2 separate regions of the Homo sapiens genome follow, and region 2 is linked to region 1. The links are contacts of gene promoters, found by promoter capture Hi-C in blood cells and fetal thymus (Javierre and others, 2016). All regions are on one chromosome and are shown on one strand. The core of a region is centred on a gene start or on the middle of the fragment in contact, and the rest is flanking DNA. Distances in the headings are between cores, read along the strand shown.

Region 1 (4,153 bases), core at 271-2,770:
ACAGTGGCTCATGCCTATAATCCTACCACTTTCGGAGGCCGAGGCGGGAGGATCACCTGAGGTCAGGAGTTTGAGATCAGCCTGGCCAACACGGTGAAACCCCATCTCTACTAAAAATACAAAAATTAGTCAGGTGTAGTGGTGGGCGCCTGTAATCCCAGCTACTTGGGAGGCTGAGGCAGGAGAATTGCTTGAATCCAGGAGGCGGAGATTGCAATGAGCTGAGATCACGCCACTGCACTCCAGACTGGGCGACACAGAGAGACTCTGTCTCAAAAAAAAAAAAAAAAAAAAAGAAAAGAAAAGCGAAAAGAAAAAGAAATGATACAGGGATCCAGCTGAACATCTTGTCCTCAGTCGGTCACCCTAATACCATTTCATGAACAATCCATCTTTCCCCCATGATTTGAAATGCCGCCTTCATCACATATCAGATTTGGGTCTATAGCTGGACTCTCTTGTTTCTTAGTGATCTATTTGTACTAGTACCACACTTTCATAGAAAAACCATCAATACTTTAGCATAACATCTCTTAGCTGTTTATTTTTATGTATAAACTTTAGCATCAGCTTAATATTTAAACTAAAACAATCTGAACTTTCACATTAGAATGTTGAGTTAAAATACTGATTTTCATTTGAATCACTGTTTACTGAATTCATAGAAAATTGATTAAAATTATTCATGCCTTTCACTCCACAATATTTCAGTACTGAATCTATTTCATAACATGAAATAGCAAGTCTTCCCCTTTATTTGAGTCTTATACACACACACACACACACACACACAAATGGTGCTAGTTAAAAAAAGAAAAAAATATAATTGCAAGAAAATTACCCACCCTGTCTAATATAGCCCCTAATGTTGTAGGACAGACACCCTAGTGGCTGGTCTGTTTTGACTCTTCACCAACCGACACATGGGGCAGACAGCTGGCTGTCACGTGCCAGGTGCATCAAAAACAGACTACATGCTTTTGATGTGCAAGTATGATGTCATTCTACTGCCCTATATACCTCTAAGGAAAAAACTGAAGTTACTTGTTATTTTACTCTATGTCAAATACTAACAGGAGAAAGATGTTTCATCCACAAGACTGTGACTTCTCAAACACACAGCTTTACAAGGTGACATTCGGCTTCGGGATGGACTCTCAGATGACCCCAGTGGACGCTGGAAATGAAGGCAATCATGCTGAGGGCCTGGCAGTCACACTTCAGCTAAGAGAAACCCTTCCTTCTACAGTTTTCTTTAAGGAAATGTAGTTTTATTCTCCTATTTAGCAATATATTCCGTGTCCTCCAAACTCTAAGTTACAAGTTTTTTCAAATAAGAACTTGAAAAAGTACCAAAGTTTGGGACACTAGGGACAGACTATCATTGGTACAGCAGCCTCAGCCTGGTTTCCATCAAGGACCGGCTGTGAAATGGAGGGGCTCGGAGGGCCACAGTCAAGAGCCTAGTGAGTTGGAATTCCGTTAACAGCTCTACCTCTCTTCCGCTGTGTAACCTCGGGCTAGAGTTCAGAAGTGAGTGGTCTGGATTCAGAAGACTGCCAGAAGCTAAGTGAGGTACATCACAAAGGAACACAGGACTGTGAGCTAGAACAGGAGAGTGAATGTTCGCTGGGGCCTTCCAGAAGACAGTTCAGTCTTAGCAAACTGGCCAGGAAGGATTTTCATCAAGATGGAGGAAAAACCTGGAGGTGAACTATTCATAGCAAGTGTCCTCAAAAAATTAAAATCCATTTAATTAGGGCAAAAACAAATAATTGTTCTTTGAAAATCACTTGGTCAATAATTTGTAGGTGTGTAGTAACTGTCATACTAGTTGGTTATGTATGTGATCTTAGCTCTCCACCTAAGTTATGAAATCTTTGTGGTTATGTTTGTTTCTATCTCTTTGGTTTTGTTTTTTTTTTTCCTGGAACGCTCTCTTTATCTTGTTTCAACCCAACTCCTGCTGATAACACATTTCTCAAAACCCTACCAACTGGAGATCTTTCCTGCAGCTTCCGTCACGGCCCTCGGACTCAGTCCCTCAGCAGATGGCCTTTTACTGCCCTGGCAGGTCCCTTCCCCTCTTAACTGTAACCAATCACTGGCTTTCTCTCTGAACCCATCCTTCCCATACGTCGATCTCTGCCTTCTTCACTCTCAACTCCCAAATCCCCTTGGTAGTTCCCTAACTACAGACACCTCGTCACGGTAAAACCTATTCAGCTCCTGGGCTGAGGTTTCCATCCTGTGGCGCCTCTCTGTCCTTTCCTTCCACCTTTCCCTCCTCTTCCTTTCTACTGAGCAGCATCTTCATCCTCTTTCTCTTCCCACTCCTTATTTTGCAAAGCTCTTAACTGTCCATCATGGGTAATTAAAATCCCTTCATTAGCACTCACTGCCCCTAGAGTCACCTCCAAGCTTCCTGTGGCTCAATCAGGAGTTTCTTCAGCACAGGTCTCAACTTTGCCTCGTGCTGCATTCCCCATTCTCCCTACCTGCCACTAACCTTCACTCTGAAGCTTCAAACTTCACACATTTCCCCAAACTTTTCTACATCTCTGCTGTTCCTCACACTATACTGTACTCTTATCTGCACACCTCATCTTCCTCAATTTAGCAAAGCCCTACCCCATCAGAAGGGCTCTGGCCTTCCCACAGCCTGCTGGCTGACATCCAGCCGCCTCCTTTCACTTTCTTCATTATTTGCAAATCAGATGGTCAGTCCCACCAGTGAATCACGGGGACAGCTCTGTCTTACCCGGAGAATGTTTCCCCCAAAAGATTCTCCAAATGCCTTGCATAAAGTGGCAAGGACTCAAATATTTTAAATGTGATGTTCTTGATCATTTGTATGAAATATATCTTACTCTTTGTCAGACCTCTAACCTTCATGACATGATCACCAAAAGGAGGAAATCAGATTTGCCTTATGTATACTAAGACTATGTATACTAAGACTTTGCCTTATGTATAAAAAGACTAAATTGAGTCTTTTTGAAAAAATTAACTTGTTGTGGTCGATCACAGAATAAGTGATTTTCAGCATGTGACTACAGAAAAAATGATTTTTGGCCAGGCGCAGCGGTTCACACTTGTAATCCCAACATTTTGGGAGGCTGAGGCAGGAGGATCACTTGAGGTCAGGAGTTTGAGACCAGCCTAGCCAACATGGTGAAACCCCATCTCTATTAAAAATACAAAAAGCCGGGTGTGGTGGCAGGAGCCTATAATCCCAGCTACTTGGGAGGCTGAAGCAGGAGAATCGCTTGAACCTGGAAGGCGGAGGTTGCAGTGAGCCGAGTTCACACCACTACACTCCAGCCTGGGTGACAGAGTGAGACTCTGTCTCAAAAAAAAAAAAAAAAAAAAAAGAGAAAGAAAAAAGAATTTTTAGCATGTGACACTATGAGTACCCTTAAAATAACAGTGTCTGAGTTCTGAAAGTGGATGATACAGACAGGCACAGGAGATGGAGGAATGGGCAAATATGAGAGAAAGCAAGAGCAGTAAAATGGGAATGGTAAAATCTAGAAGGTGGGTATATGATTATTCACTATGAAATTCGTTTAACTCTTCTATGCTTGAAATTTTAACAAACATTGGAAAATGCAACAAACAAAATCGACATATACAATCACTCTCGTCTGAGCTCCATTAGAAGGACACAGAGAAGGGCTGTGTCCATCAGGGTAACCTGCCATCTCCTGCTGCCCGTGAACGTGGGGCCCTGGGTAAACGCTTTGTAAATTAAGTATCTGTTGAATGAATACACTCCTACAGCATGTCTGGTTGGGTCTCTGGGACACGCTTAAATCTATGTAATCACCACAGGTAGATGATTATGTCCGACTCTCTTCCTAACTCCCACCCCAGCTAAATCAAATGCCCCTTTAGGCCCAGGAGCAATATACTAACAATTTGCTGGTTTAACGTTCTAAATTTAAAAGCTATCCTCTCCTCATAATGCAAATAGAGAAATATATTTATGCAGGCTTGACATTGGGAGACTTATTTAAACACATTCACTCAAAGGATTTACAGCATTAGCTAAATTTCTTCAGAAAGTAGACTGGCTTGTACCTGACTGCAGAGCCACTGGACCACAGAACAGACTGAGAATGGCCACGAGGGGTGGGGGAGACGGACACGC
Region 2 (4,212 bases), core at 1,038-3,537, 510 kb after region 1:
AGTGCGCTCCTGGCCGACTTCAGTCCGTCTCGCGGCTTCTTCCGGGTTTATCCCGCGCAGCAGCTGCCGCCTCGGGACACGCTCATTCCCACGGCCACCGGCAAGCCACTCCTGGCGACTCCCCGGGACCTGAGGAGCCGCGGCGCGGAGGTGACCCTCCCCGGCCTGCGCCTCCCTTCTTCCTCCTCCCCAGCTGGGCGCGTGGTCGCGTCGCCCGGGGACTCTGGTGATGCCCGAGAAATGGGCTGGGGGTGCCGGGTGCCAGGATGGGGTGGGGCGGCCCTAGGCCGGCCTGACTTCGGGACCGGGCTGCGGGCGAGGGTCTCGGGGCCCGGCTCGGCCGGCTTCCGGGCCGAGAAAGAAGGGCAGAGGAAGCGGTCAGGGTCCCCTCCGGCCCCGGCCTCCCTCCCGGAGTATAAGCCCTTGGAGGCCAGGTTTTGGGTTGCTGCCGCCCAGCTCTTTCGGTCTCCACTTCTCCCCACGGACGTTTACAGCTGCTCGCTTTATTTCTCCCTCCATTCCCCCGTGGAGCCCCCTCGGCAGCGGAGGGGTCGCGTGCTTCTCCTCTCCCGCCTGCGCCTCCCCCCTTCCCACCCGACAGCCCAGGAGGAGCTGCGGGCGCGGCCCTGGGACGGCCGGAGCCTGGGGCTTCTGCTCGCTCGCGCCCTCCCAGGCGTTGCCGCGGGTCCGAGCCCCCGCAGAGGTGGGCATAGCCCCGGGGCCGCAGAAAACGAAGGCAGCTGGGCAGGGATGCTCAATTTCCCGAGCCCCACTTTCCTTTCACAGCCCACTGGGATGTGTAGTTCTTCCGCCCGCAGGCCTGCGCCGAGGAGAAGCACGACTCGGGGCCTTAGAAACTACAAGTCCCTGCATCCCCCGCGACAAGGGCAGGAGAGGCGTGGTGCTGGGCGTTCTGGGGCTAGGTGGTGGGAGATGGGAACCAACAAAGGGGGTTGTGGGGAACGGTGCCTTCTCTGTACTGGGCAGTTTGCACGTTACACATGTTCTTTGTCTAATCTTCGCCGGAACCCGGTGAGGCATTATTGTATCCAGCTTAGAGAAAGCTTAACTACTGGCCAAACATCACAAAGCTCCCAAGTAGTAGAGATGGCATCGAACCCAGAGCCCTAAGTATGTCCCTTACAAAGCGTGCCTCAGTGAGGAGTGTCGAAGGGGGATGAGATTGGCTTATCCAAGAGGGCCAGTTGGGAGGAGCTGTGGTAAGGAAAAAGTGATGGGAATAGCAATTAGAGTATGACATGCAATTACAAGGAGTTTTGAATACAAGTGAAATTTACAGGGGTCCATTCCAAAGCCGGTTAGAGTCTAGGGAGAATGGATCTTAAGCACACGATAATAATTGGGTTTTAATTATTTTAGATATTGTATGAGAGACAAGCATATTACAGGGACAATTAAGTATTTGTGGCTGGACTAGTTTTAAAAAACCAACTGGAAAGCTTCATACATTTCAAGTGAAAGCTCTCATATGCTTTCCTGTCCTTTAGCTAATGAGATCAACGGGGTATTATTCTTATTCTGTTTATTGCAAGCACCTTTTCTGTGGGTGTCCAATTAATATAATAGATCCATTGATTTGATGGCATTAAAAAAGACTCCCACTCTTATTCTCAATGAAACCGAATTTTTCTGGCATTATGGTTATGCTTTTAAAAAGTCCTTCCTTGTCTGTTAGAGATATGTACTAAAGTATCTGCCAGCGAAATAATATAAAGTCTGAAATGTGCTTTAAAACACACCAGCCCATCCACTCCCCTCCTCCCACCCACCCAGCTCCAGACATGGAGGTATAAATGAAACAATTGGAAACTGTTGAAAATAGTTGACCTTGGGTGACATGTACTTGTACTTAATTATTTATTGCTGCAAATTGCCACAAACGTAGTGGCCTTAAAACAAGACAGATTTTTCTCACAGTTTTTATGGATCAGGTGTCCAGGTACACTCAGTCCCCCACTTAGGGTCTCACGCCTGCCATCAAGGGGCTGGCCAGGCTGCGTTCACATTCACTGGAGAAGAACTGGCTTCCACTCTGACTCCGGGCACAGGCAAAATTCCTTTCCTTGCAGCAGTAGGACCGAGGGCCCTGGCTTCTTGCTGGCTGGAGACTGGAGACTGTCCTCAGCTCCAAGAGGGAACCTGCAATTCCTAGAGGTTACCTGGACTTCATTGTCACTTGGGCTTTCCGAGCACAGCCACTTATTTTGTCAGGCCTGCAAGGAGAGTCCCCAGAGTGAGTCTCCAGCAAGACAGAATTTTATATAACATAAAGCAATCCCACGGGGGCAACTTCAAATGTGAACATTCTGTTGGCCAGAAAGCATGTTTTGCACACACTCAAAGGGAGAGGAGTACACAGGGCATGAACCCTAGGGTGAGGGACACCCCGGAGTGCATCCACCACAGTGTACATGAGAGTCCATTATGCTTTTCTTACCTACCACATCTACTCATGTTTATGTTTGACATTTTCCATAATAAAAAGAAATGAATTCGTTTTAAAATGTTACCTAAAGTTTCCACAGCAAATAAGATATGCTGATATGATTTCTAAATAGCTGATACAATTGTCTGTAGTTGTCTTCCAGGGGATAACTTTTTTCTTCCCACTCCATGTGTACTAAGACCTCTGCGGTTAATTCACTTGTATGGGTTACCCTCCCCTAAGAGCGTTCACTAGAACCTGGTGTGTGATAGCTGCAGAGTTCACCTCACCAGCTACAGTTGATCTTGAACAATATGGGTTTGAACAGCGTGGATGCCCTTAGACACGGATTTTTTTCAACCAAATGCAGATGGAAAATACAGCATCCGTGGGATGGGAAATGCGAGTATTCAGAGGGCAAAGGCCCACTCTTCCTATATGCAGGTTCTGTGGAGCCTGTTTAAGGACCTGAATATGTGCAGATTCAGGTATACGCAGGTGATCCTGGAACCAATCTCCTGAGGATACTGAGGGATGACTGTAAAACCTACTGTATAAGGGATGGTAGAGTTTATTCATTTATTTTACAGTTATCTATTTCAGGGCCTAGATTGTGCTAAGTACTGTTTTAGCAGCAGTGATACAAAAAGATCCAAGATAGAAGCTTATATTTGGGGACTGGGGGAGAGGTGGAGAGAATAAACAAATAAATAAATGACTAGTAAGACAATTTCAGAGAGTAATTACAAGAACGAAAAAACAAAGCAGGGTTATGGGATGGAGAGACTGGGGTCGGGCAGAGAATCGAATGATGGGAAGGGGCAAGTACCAAGTCCTCAAGGCAGAACAACCTGGAAAATTCTAGGGGTACAAAGAAAAACCAGTCTGGCTGGAGTGGAGCGAGGGCCAGGGAGAGAGGGAAAAAGGAACAGGAATTCATTCTGTGTGCACCAGCATCAATTCTGTATGCCACACTCTGTACCCACCATCGGTGTAAGTGTTGAGGGGTCTGAAAGAAAAATCACCGTCCTTGCCCTCCAGGAATGTATAGATTCCAAACTTTAATGCTAGAGGGACGTCAGCGTATCTAGAATTAGAGACCAAAACTTGTATTTCTCAAACAAGGACACTGAAAAGTCAAAAGACCTGCTAAAAATTCCTTGAGAATGCCTCGCCAATAACAAATAATCCAAAAATGAGTCTTGAATTGAATTGAAAGAGTGCATGATCTACTTTTGCTAAATGGGGTTTAGCCTAATACTGCCTCTTTACATATTTTAAGTTTGGCCTAAAGGTTTCTCTGTACACTGAACTGTAGCCTAAATGGAAGTGTAAACAGAGTGTGATCTACTCGGGTGTCAATTACTGAGTTTTGGCCACTCAATTGTGGCCAGCTGTTCAAACCATGTTCAAATAAGACAAATGCTGAGCTGTAACCATCTGGCTGTTTCCGTACCTCATTTCCGCTTTCTGTACGTCACTTTCTTTTTTCTGTCCATAAATTCTCTTCCACCACGCGACTGCACTGCAGTCTTTGAGGCTACCCTGGCTCAGGAGGCTGCCCAATTCATGAATCATTCTTTGCTCAGTTAAACTATTTTAAATTGAATTCAGCTGAAGTTTTTCTTTTAGCACTTTAAAGCTTTAGAAAATTGATAATGTTTAGTGCTTGTCACGTGCAGGTCAGTATGATGAAGGTAAATGCGGCAGAGAAACTACAGTTAAGGTTGGGAAACAAGATGGAGGCACATGAGAAATTCAATAAT

What was found. The method cuts DNA at HindIII sites, captures the fragments that hold promoters and counts their contacts. A CHiCAGO score of 5 or more calls a contact.
Region 2: a contact is called between a fragment that was not itself captured here and the fragment with the promoter of SNX9-AS1 in region 1, in 1 of 17 cell types (naive CD4 T cells). The highest score is 6.7, in naive CD4 T cells.

Annotation. Positions count from the first base shown.
Region 1 is chr6:157,890,249-157,894,401 of GRCh38, reverse strand. SNX9-AS1 (SNX9 antisense RNA 1) reads left to right here and starts at 1,520. Exons shown (of 2, transcript NR_183542.1): 1 at 1,520-1,709. The region is part of intron 4 of SNX9 (sorting nexin 9); the gene reads right to left. The HindIII fragment of the contact is 5,913 bases long and covers 1-2,423 here.
Region 2 is chr6:157,376,730-157,380,941 of GRCh38, reverse strand. It overlaps LOC124901446, which reads left to right. Exons shown (of 1, transcript XM_047419644.1): 1 at 1-1,628. The coding sequence starts at 241. The coding sequence ends at 1,131. Among named protein-coding and RNA genes, the nearest start is that of ZDHHC14, 2.4 kb to the left of the region's middle. RefSeq lists enhancers at 1-204, 816-1,428 and silencers at 1-374, 535-614. The HindIII fragment of the contact is 1,650 bases long and covers 1,463-3,112 here.